Linked DNA regions of Homo sapiens: region 1 is linked to region 2. The links are contacts of gene promoters, found by promoter capture Hi-C in human tissues and cell types (Jung and others, 2019). All regions are on one chromosome and are shown on one strand. Each heading gives the region's core, a stretch centred on a gene start or on the middle of the fragment in contact. The rest is flanking DNA. Distances are from core to core; before and after follow the strand shown.

Region 1 (5,057 bases), core at 1,638-4,137, 770 kb after region 2:
TGTTCAGACTTGTTTTGTGATCAAAGATATAGTCTATTCTGGGAATGTTCTACGTGCTGATGAAAACGTTTCATGTGCAGAAGATTTGGGTGCAGCCTTGCTTGTGTATTTTGTTTGCAATGCTTGCGTTCTTCGTGACATAACTAAATTCATTGCCACAATCAGTGTCAAGAAGATTTTTCCCTATGTTTTTGCCTAACAGTTTTATTATTCCAGATCTTACATTTAAGTCTGAAATTCATTTCCTTTTGAGTTATTTTTTGTGTGTGTGGTGTAAGACAAGGGCTTAATTTGTTTTTGCTTTTGTTTTGCTTGTGGATATTCACTTTTCCAAACACCATTTATTTGAAGAGACTATCCTTTCCACACTGTGTATGCTTGGCACCCTGACCAAAAATTACTTAGTAGAATATGTGTGTGGGTTTATTTCAGTTCTCTCTATTCTGTTCCATTAGTCTGTGTGTCTGTTTTTATGACAGTATCATATTGCTTTGTAATGCTGTATCATATTAAGGCTTTAAAATGCAGTTCGCTATCAGGAACCCTAATGCCTCGGGCTTTGTTCTTCATTCCCCAGAGTGTCTTGGCTATATATTTATATACTTAAGTGTTCCAACGTTGAGTGCATATGTACTTGTAGTTGTTATAATCTATTAATGAATTGACCTCTTTATTATTACATGATGACTACTTTGTGTCTTGTGATACTTTTTACTTAAGGTCTATTCTGTTTTGTACAAGTATAGCCACTCCTTCTCTCTTTTGGTTACCACATGCATGGAATATCTTTTTGCATTTTTTCACTTTCAACCAATATGTGTCATCAAAGTTAAAGTAAGTCTCTTGGAGGTACCATATAGTTGAATTTTTTAAAAAGTACTCATTTAGCCACTTATGTTTTTGATTGGAGAATTCAATCCATGTACATTTAAAGTAGTTATTGACATGTAAGGACTTACTACTGCCACTTTGTTAATTGTTTTCTGTTTATCCTAAAGATCTTTGTTTCATTTCTCCCCTCTTGCTGTTTTTCTTTATGATTTGATGATTTTTTGTAGTGATATGTTTGCATCTCTTCTCTTTTTCTTTTGTGTATCTACTGTGCTTTTTTTTAATTGTGTGATTACCAGGAGGTAAATAAAACAACTTATAAATAGTCTACATATAAAAACTCTACATTTTAACCTCTCCACTCACATTTAATGGTGTTGATATCACAATTTACATGTTTTATATATTGTATGTTCATTAACAAATTATTATAGTTATAGTTATTTTAATACTTTTATCTTAAACATTTTTATTACAGTAAAAGTAATTATACACCCCCATTACACTAACAGAGAATTCTGATTTGACTATATTCTTTCCATTAAAGTGAGTTTTATACTTCCATATGTTTTCACGTTGTTACCTGGCATCCTTTCAAATAAACTTGAAGAACCTTTTTTAGCATTTCCTGTAAGGCATGTTTAGTAGTGATTATCTCCCTCACCTTTAGTTTGTCTGGGAATGTTTTTATGTCTCCTTCATTTCTGAAGGTCAGTTTTTTTCAGGTAAAGTATTTTTGGTAGGAAGTTTTTTCTTTAAGTCCAACACATTAAAACGATTATGTGTTATCCCTTTCCCCCTCACCTGCAAAATTTTGTCTGAAAAATTTGCTGATAACCTTGTGACAGTTGTCTTGTACGTGATGAGTAGCTTTTCTCTTGCTTCTTTCTAAGTTATTTTTGTCTTTGAGTTTTGACAGTTTATATATAAAGTGTCTCAGAGTAATTTTCTTTGGATTTTTTTATTGGCAATAATTGAGACTCATGAATTTGGATGTCCATATCTCTTCCAAAATTTGGGAAGTTTTACCAATAATTTCTTTAAATAAGTTTCCTGTCCCTTTCTCTCTCTTATTTCCTTCTGGAACCTCCATAATGTTTATATTTGTTGGTTTGATGGTGTCCCATAGGCTTTATATGCTTTCTCCAATGTTTTTCTATTGTTTCCTCTAACTGGCTAATGTCAAAGAACCTGTCTTCAAGTATACTGAGTCTTTCCTCTATATGACTGAGTCTGCTGTTGAAGTTCTCCATTAAATTTTCAGTCTGTCATTGAATTCTTCAGTTCCAGGATTTCGAATTTGTTCTTTTTATGGTTTTGGTTTATTTATTCTCATTTTATCCATGCATTGTTTTTCTGATTTTTGTTTAGTTGTATATATGTGTTTTTTATACCTCATTAAGCTTCATTAAGGTGATTATTTTGAATTTATTGTCAAGTAATTTCTAGGTCTCTATTTCTTTGGGATAGGTTACTGGAGCTTTATTAGATTCCTTTCATGGTGTTTTGTTTGCCTGATTTTTTGAGATTCGTAGAGCCTGTATTGGTTACTGTGCTTTTGAAAGAATAAACACCTCTACCAGTCTTTAAAGATTGGTTATGGCAAGTAAAGACCTTTCTCTGCCAGTTTCCTGGGCTGATGGAATTACTTCTAGGACTGTAGTAAAGTGGAGTTTGAGGCAAGTTTGGTGACCACTGCTGGGTCTGAAGTGGGTTCTGCAGTTGGCAGACCTGTTATCAGGGATGCTGGCAAGCATGGATCCTGCTTGGTTTATGGATGAATTGGACTGCTTCTGGAACCTTGGTCCATAGGGCTGGTGGACAAAAGTTCATTTCAAGGTCCACAGTTAGGTCTGTAGATTACCTGCCACCAAGTGCACAGGTAGATGTAGTTCCCACTGGGTTACTGGGCAGATCTCTGGGTGGGAAGGTCTTGCCCTGGACTATAGCTGAGTAGGACTGAAATTGGGTGACAGTTACTCTAAGATCCACAGTGGGACTAAGTTTGATGAGCCTGTCTTCCAGAGTACAGAGAGGCATGTCTTCTGCTGGGTCACTGGGCTGGACAATGCACTTCTTTTCTTTGATAATTGTCCTTGTTCTAAAGTCTGTTTTGTCTCAATTTAATGTAGCTACTCCAACTTCCTTTTGACTAGTGTTAGCATAATGGATCTTTCTCTATCACTTTACTTGTGCTCTATGTAAGTGGCTGTATTTAAAATTGGGTTTCTTGTAGACAACATATAGTTGGATCTTGCTATTTTCATATACTCTGACCATCTCTGCCTTTTAATTTTATCTGGCTAGAAGTCAGAATACATTAAATATCTTATCTAATTGTAGGTGTCTAATTGTTTCTAGTTTTCATGTTTTGGTCTGCAGCATATACTATAAGCTTCTGTAAGTGCTCCTTCACAGAGAGAGTCTGTTCCTTGACACTCTTTCTGCTGTAACCCACTGTTATTATATCGAATCCCTGTTAATGTGGTGGTAGAGTATGGGCAGATACTCTAAAATAATCTAGAATAAACTATTTTTTCTAAAGTAACTGTTTCAGAAGTCCTCTGTTCCTGGACTGTGACTTTCCAAGTGTTTATTTGCTTCCTTTCTTCCTTAAGTGAAACATAAAAACTAAAATGAGCTGAAGTTGAATAACTGTCCTTCCTTTAGCTCTGGAAAGGCTCTTGCAAAGGCCTTACCCTTTTGTTATGTAGAAGGCTCTAGTTGTGTTTATAATTGTTACTCTTTCCATCCGCCTGTCTGAGCCAACAGGAGGTCTTTCCTGAGAAGATTTTTTTTCAGATCTTCACCAGCAGAAACTGGTTTTCTTCCTGGCTGTAAAGCCCAGGAAAATTTTGAGGTCTCCATAAGAATACGTTTCCTGGAGTCTCTCAGTCTCACGTTTGTCCAAACTCAGCCTCTGATAATTCACCAAAATGCCATTTAAGTGTTGCTACCATTGATAGCACCTGCAGCTTCTGCTGTAGGTAAGTTTATCTCAGCTGTGATGCTCTGTATTCATCTCTCGAGAGAGATTTGAAGATAGCAATTTGCTCTGCAAACTTAATTCTCTGATTCATCCAAGGGAAGTCAGTGATTTTTAGTTTTTTTTCTTTTGTTCCCATTTCTTCTTCTTTTTTTTTTTTAATTTATTATTATTATACTTTAAGTTTTAGGGTACATGTGCACAATGTGCAGGTTAGTTACATATGTATACATGTGCCATGCTGGTGCGCTGGACCCACTAACTCGTCATCTCTCATTAGGTATATCTCCCAATGCCATCCCTCCCCCCTCCCCCCACCCCACAACAGTCCCGAGTGTGATGTTCCCCTTCCTGTGTCCATGTGTTCTCATTGTTCAATTCCCACCTATGAGTGAGAATACACAGTGTTTGGTTTTTTGTTCTTGTGATAGTTTACTGAGAATGATGATTTCCAATTTCATCCATGTCCCTACAAAGGACATGAACTCATCATTTTTTATGGCTGCAGAGTATTCCATGGTGTATTTGTGCCACATTTTCTTAATCCAGTCTATCATTGTAGGACATTTGGGTTGGTTCCAAGTCTTTGCTATTGTGAATAATGCCGCAATAAACAGACGTGTGCATGTGTCTTTATAGCAGCATGATTTATAGTCCTTTGGGTATATACCCAGTAATGGGATGGCTGGGTCAAATGGTATTTCTAGTTCTAGATCCCTGAGGAATCGCCACACTGACTTCCACAATGGTTGAACTAGTTTACAGTCCCACCAACAGTGTAAAAGTGTTCCTATTTCTCCACATCCTCTCCAGCACCTGTTGTTTCCTGACTTTTTAATGATTGCCATTCTAATTGGTGTGAGATGGTATCTCATTGTGGTTTTGATTTGCATTTCTCTGATGGCCAGTGATGGTGAGCATTTTTTCATGTGTTTTTTGGCTGCATAAATGTCTTCTTTTGAGAAGTGTCTGTTCATGTCCTTCACCCACTTTTTGATGGGGTTGTTTTTTTTTTTCTTGTAAATTTGTTTGAGTTCATTGTAGATTCTGGATATTAGCCCCTTGTCAGATGAGTAGGTTGCGAAAATTTTCTCCCATTTTGTAGGTTGCCTGTTCACTCTGATGGTAGTTTCTTTTGCTGTGCAGAAGCTCTTTAGTTTAATTAGATCCCATTTGTCAATTTTGGCTTTTGTTGCCATTGCTTTTGCTGTTTTAGACATGAAGTCCTTGCCCATGCCTA
Region 2 (5,291 bases), core at 2,669-5,168:
ACTTCACCGCTGGAGGGCCTGGGGATGAAGGAGGCCCCTTTAAAATTGGCAAATAGTACGTCCTCTAAGTAGTATTCGCACAGTCTTTTATTTCTAAAGGTTGTTCAAAAGCCAAACCTCTGGAAAACTTGTCCACTGGAACCACGGTGCATATCGAATTTCAAATTGCCCCTTGGTCAGAGATAAGAAATGTGAATGGACAGCCTCACACACAGGGCCCAGCAGCCTCACGCTTCCCCAGTAATCCAGACCCTGCTCTTAAAGGATAAGAAAACAAATTTCAGCACCATAGCTCCATATCACATGATATAAAATATCTACATCATCAAAGAAAAAAATGCTTTAATTATAAAATTTCCACAAAATCAACAATTAGCTTACCATTGAACATATGATATACTTTTATATTGTTGGAAATAAATCACATAATGCTTATCAGGTTATGAAAGAAAAATATACTATCAGCAGAGAATTTAGAAAATACAAAAAGTTTCAAACAAGAGAAAACTATTTTGTCAATGTCTTTACCTGTACATAAGAATACAGAAAACCAGGCTCACATTGTATATGTAATTTCGTAACCTGATTTTTTTTTTAATTAAACCAGGCTCACACTGTATATACAATTTTGTAACCTGATTTTTTTACGTTAACGTTATTAGGCTGAGATTTCTAATGGCAATGAATTGTTTTAAACATATTTATAATATGAAGTTTTTGTTGTTTTAATTTTTTTTGATAAGTTTGGGATTAACCATCTACTTGGTTCCTGATCAATGAATACCAAAGGGTAATTACAAATACATGCCCCTCCTATTCTTTTTCCAACTTAGCTCAGAGACTTCTGTATAAGATGAGCCTCCTCATTCTTTTCTACCACTGCATAATATTCCATTATATGAATTTATCATAATTTACTGAACCAATCCCCTACTGCTTGATGTTTGGCTGTTTATTTATTTAGCTATTATAAACAATGCTGCAAGGAATAACCTTGCACACACACATTTTCATATCTGTATCTGTCTTAAGGATTCCTGAAAACGGACTGCTAGGCCAGAGTATGTTCATCTGTAATTTTTATAACTATTATTAAATTTCCCCACCTATATCTCTGCTCCAAAGTGTGCAAGAATGTCTAGAAGACACTTAAAATAACTGTATAATCTATTACTGGTCATTTTCTACCCTTAATTCACATGACTCCTACAGAGAATCATCTCAAGGCCCTGAGATCTACATCATCAACAGCCCACCAGCCCCTCTGTGCCTCCTGACACCTCCTCTGTAGAGGTGGTTTTCTTAGCCCAGCTTTCCATTAACTTTTCCATGCTTCTCTGGCCTCATTCCCTCTCTTTTCACATTGATTCCTGTTCTCCTTGGAGTTAGGCCTGTATTATAACATTATCTAACAAAAGGAACCAATGGTCAGAAAGGGGAATTTTACAGGTCAAGACATTTTCAATGGGACAGTTATGAAAGTTTGGAGTACAAAGACAGCACAAACCTGACTCTGTGTAGCTCACACAGTCTGTGATTGTTTTCCAGCATACTTCACCATTCTGAGTTACAATGCTATTGATATCACAATTTTCTCTGAGTTGAAACCCAAGATTACAAATTATATCATACACTGAGGGAGAAAGACATGTGGTAATAGGGTCCCCTATTAATACCTAAAAAATAAAATAAAATAAAAGGCACTGCTTAACAGAAAGAAAAATAGAGTATTATATATTTCAGACACATCTCTTAAGAACTGAATGCACTCAGGTATAGTTGCTGTTAACATGCTTTCTGGATATCGTGAGAGCTGTATGATTAAAACATAGTGATTAAATATTAAAGATAATTTACATAAATGTTCTCAAATATGATAAAGGCTTAAAGACCTAAAATTATCAATCATAATATTTGCAAACTGCTCTGTCTATGGGGTAGCCATTGTTTATTCCTTTACTTTCTTAATAAACTTGCCTTTCACTTAAAAAAAAAAAAGAAAAAATACAAGTTCACGGAAGCTGAATGTGTTTTACGACCAGAGCATTATTGCTCTCAGCATTCCTTCACTATCCCAGAGTTATCAAAATAAGCAATTTTTTTAAATGGGGAATGGGAGAGCAGAAACCAAGTATAACGAACAAGAAGGAAAAAGAACCCCACGTACCTCTGACTACCTAAACGGTGTTGAAGAAAACCACAATGTCATCCCAAAACATGCCTCTTCGATATAAAAACAACAACAAATTTGAGCTGAAGACAAGAGGCAGCAAATGAAGGAAAAGCTCTCTCTATCCTCCCCCTCTTCCGCCCAAAGACAGGATATAAATTCTTTACTGGGGATAACTTTAGACTTACCAGACCAGTTAAGGTACCAGGGGAATCTGCAAACAATTCTTACTCCATTAGTTTCCGAATATGTATCTACCTTCCCAATTTCCTGCCCTTTGAAGCCTAAAACTGCTCTCCTGTGTCCTGTCACTTCTCTGCAAATCTACAGTTCTTTGTTGAAGATGGTATACAAATGTAGTTCTAAGCCACCATTTCAAGTTACTTCTCATTAAGGTTTATCCCTTGTGATGTGTACTCTGTCCAAGAATAAACTTTTTTCTTGTTATCCTTTCATTTGTTAAAGGGGTCACTCCGAACTAAGATGGGCAGAGGTAAAGTTTAGCCTTCCCTGCCATGTAAAAAGTAGCAAACCGTACTGGTTTTCCATGGAGAATTAAATACAATCGAAATCCTCACAATTACCCCACATGACACTAAGACCATCGTATAAACCTGCAAAGAAGTCAAATTCAGGATCTAAAGCGGAACCGAAGCTCTTTATTTTGGTGTGTTGAGTTAAGGGGGGGCTGTGTTGTGACAGTCATAATTAGCTCTGGGCAGCTTCCTAATGTGGAAACTGCTATCAGTTGCCCTGTTTGCTCCTCCTGCACCCAGAAGTTGCACTTTCCACTCTCAGCCCTGGTTTTCGAACAATCCCAGCAGGCCCTAACAATTAAGTCATCACTAAAGAAATCTACATCAACTATTTGTTGATTGGCGATTGTCACTCGCATCCTCCATGTGGCTCTATGGGGCTGGAACTCTGCAGACTACACTGGGCCGGTGCTTTGGAGCTGGACTTAAATTTGAATCATTCCTCAGCCTCTGACTACCTCTTGCCTTGGAAAAGTTACTTTATCGGAATCTCAGTTCTAAGTGAAATAAAACGGTGCCAGGCTGCACCTGGTAGGGCTACAGTAATCAGATAACACATGAAAAGCATCTAGCACATAGTACTCAAAAATGGTAGTTATCGTTATCATCATTTTGGAGACGGGGTCTCGCCGTCGCCCAGACAGGGGTGCAGTGGCGCGATCTCGGCTCACTGCAGCCTCCACCTCCTGGGCTAAAGCGATCCTTCCACCTCAGCCTACGGAGTAGATGGGACCACAGGCCCCACCACGCCCGGCGATGAACACAAATTTACTGTCCGAGTGTGGACCCTACAGGCAGCGACTAGGAAACTGCGCTTCTAGGAACGAGCCACGGTCAGGTGAGAGCCCGACCTGCGGCTTTCCGCCCCCGCGCCACCGCGCACAGCCCTCCCTGACCGTCCGCCGCGTTCCAGCTCAGGGCCAGGAGGCGACGGAGAAACCGAGCCTGGCCCAGGGAGGCCGGCAGGGCCCGCCAGGCGTCTTGCAGGGCCGAGCGTCCGATACCGCCACAGAGGCCAGGGCCGCGACGTCGCCAGCGCCCTCCAGCGCGGGACCGCCGGCCACCGCAGGCGCGTGCTCGCTCGCCCACTCCGCGTAGCCGAGCACCACCCAGCCTGGCGCCGACTCCCTGCCTAGCTCGGGATCGAACCGGGCCCTACACCCGCCCTACCTCCATAACTTCCGGTGCCCCGCTGCGGCGCGCGTGAATGACGCAGGCGCCTGCGCGCCCCTCCTCCAGGCGCTTTGGAGCCCTGGCGGGCACTTCCTACCGTACGAGGCGCAGGTGGGAGACTTCCGCCCTCGCGGGACTGGCTAGGGCGTTTGACCGCCGGCGGTGAAGGGGAGGCGGTGGGCGTCTTGGAGAACAGAGCGAGATGGAGAAGCGAGGCCGAGGCGTGAAGTCGAGCCCCATCCAGACCCCGAACCAGACCCCTCAGCAGGCTCCGGTGACGCCTAGGAAAGAAAGGAGGCCTAGCATGTTCGAGAAGGAGGCAGTGAGTGCGGAGACTGCTAGGGGCCCGAGACGGCTATGTCCGACCGTTTAAGTGAAATCGCTCCCCAGTGGGCCCCGCTCCCGTCACCACCCCCAGAGCCAAGGAGGCAGCATCTCCCTTTTGTGTTTCTTTTTTCCCCAGATGCGAAATTGAAGCCTGAGACTGAGTTGGGCAGTCCCCTTTGGACTTGAGTGCTAAAGTTTTCTTGTTTTTTAATTAGGGCCATAGAACCCTACATAAGTCGATTGGAAGGGTGGTTACAAGATCTTCTTTTCAAATTTACTCAGCTTGCGGATTTCCTGAGAGTACTCTGAGTATTATTGCTTTGTACTAAAACACAGTATGTTAGTGTATTTAGTGCCATTATAAGCAGTTTTGCTAGCGAAAAATGAGTGTGTTGTATTAAAAAAATAATTTGATAAACCAGGCAGAATAGTGCCATGTTTTGGGTTTTTAAAACATCAGCAGTCTGGATATTTGAAGAATGTACAGGAGAAAAAAACTTAAGTTGAAAATACCCTGTCCAAAACTTACTGATATTGATGGAAAGGGTCATTATTCAGTTTTATTGGTGGTATAACAGGTATTTCTATATGATTAGGCTTTGAAAACCGTTAATGTATTAAAGACTCTATATTTTATTGATACTTTAACAGAAAATTAGTTTGCCCAAGGATACAAAGCTGTAATGATAGAGCTGGGACCAGAACCTGTATGCTAGTACTCGGTCCAATTGGCCTATACTGGTTTCTCTTCGTACTTACTTCGTGGACCTATAATAGGATGAAGATAGAGATGACAGGCAAAACAATTTTTTGAAGACCCTAAAACATTTTAAGATTACTCTTAAAAAGAGAATTCTCAAAATAATGGCGAAATTTCAGGTTCTTGTTTCCCTGGTGTCTACATTTTACAGAGGAAAGAACGAACTAAATAAAGGAGGAAAAGCAAACAGGCCAAGTTTACACAGCTAAGAAAAAGAGCAGAGCAGGGCTAGAAACCTAAATCAGTTGGACTTAAAACTTCACACTCCCAAACACTATGCTGTATTTCTTGGCAATGAGTCTGAGTAACAGGTCACCAACAGTAA

Evidence for each region. Contacts are between HindIII fragments. The study calls those that stand out against the background at their distance.
Region 1: a contact is called between a fragment that was not itself captured here and the fragment with the promoter of ERMARD in region 2, in 2 of the 25 tissues and cell types used here (lymphoblastoid cells and spleen).

The regions. Positions count from the first base shown.
Region 1 is chr6:168,978,001-168,983,057 of GRCh38, reverse strand. The region is part of intron 2 of LOC105378145 (a long non-coding RNA gene); the gene reads right to left. Among named protein-coding and RNA genes, the nearest start is that of LINC01615, 180 kb to the left of the region's middle. RefSeq lists an enhancer at 3,262-3,904. The HindIII fragment of the contact is 3,803 bases long and covers 986-4,788 here.
Region 2 is chr6:169,750,249-169,755,539 of GRCh38, reverse strand. It overlaps ERMARD (ER membrane associated RNA degradation), which reads right to left and starts at 3,918. Exons shown (of 18, transcript NM_018341.3): 1 at 3,877-3,918; 2 at 1,508-1,676; 3 at 118-257. The coding sequence starts at 3,882. It overlaps DYNLT2 (dynein light chain Tctex-type 2), which reads left to right and starts at 3,968. Exons shown (of 4, transcript NM_174910.3): 1 at 3,968-4,201. The coding sequence starts at 4,082. The HindIII fragment of the contact is 9,893 bases long and covers 1-5,291 here.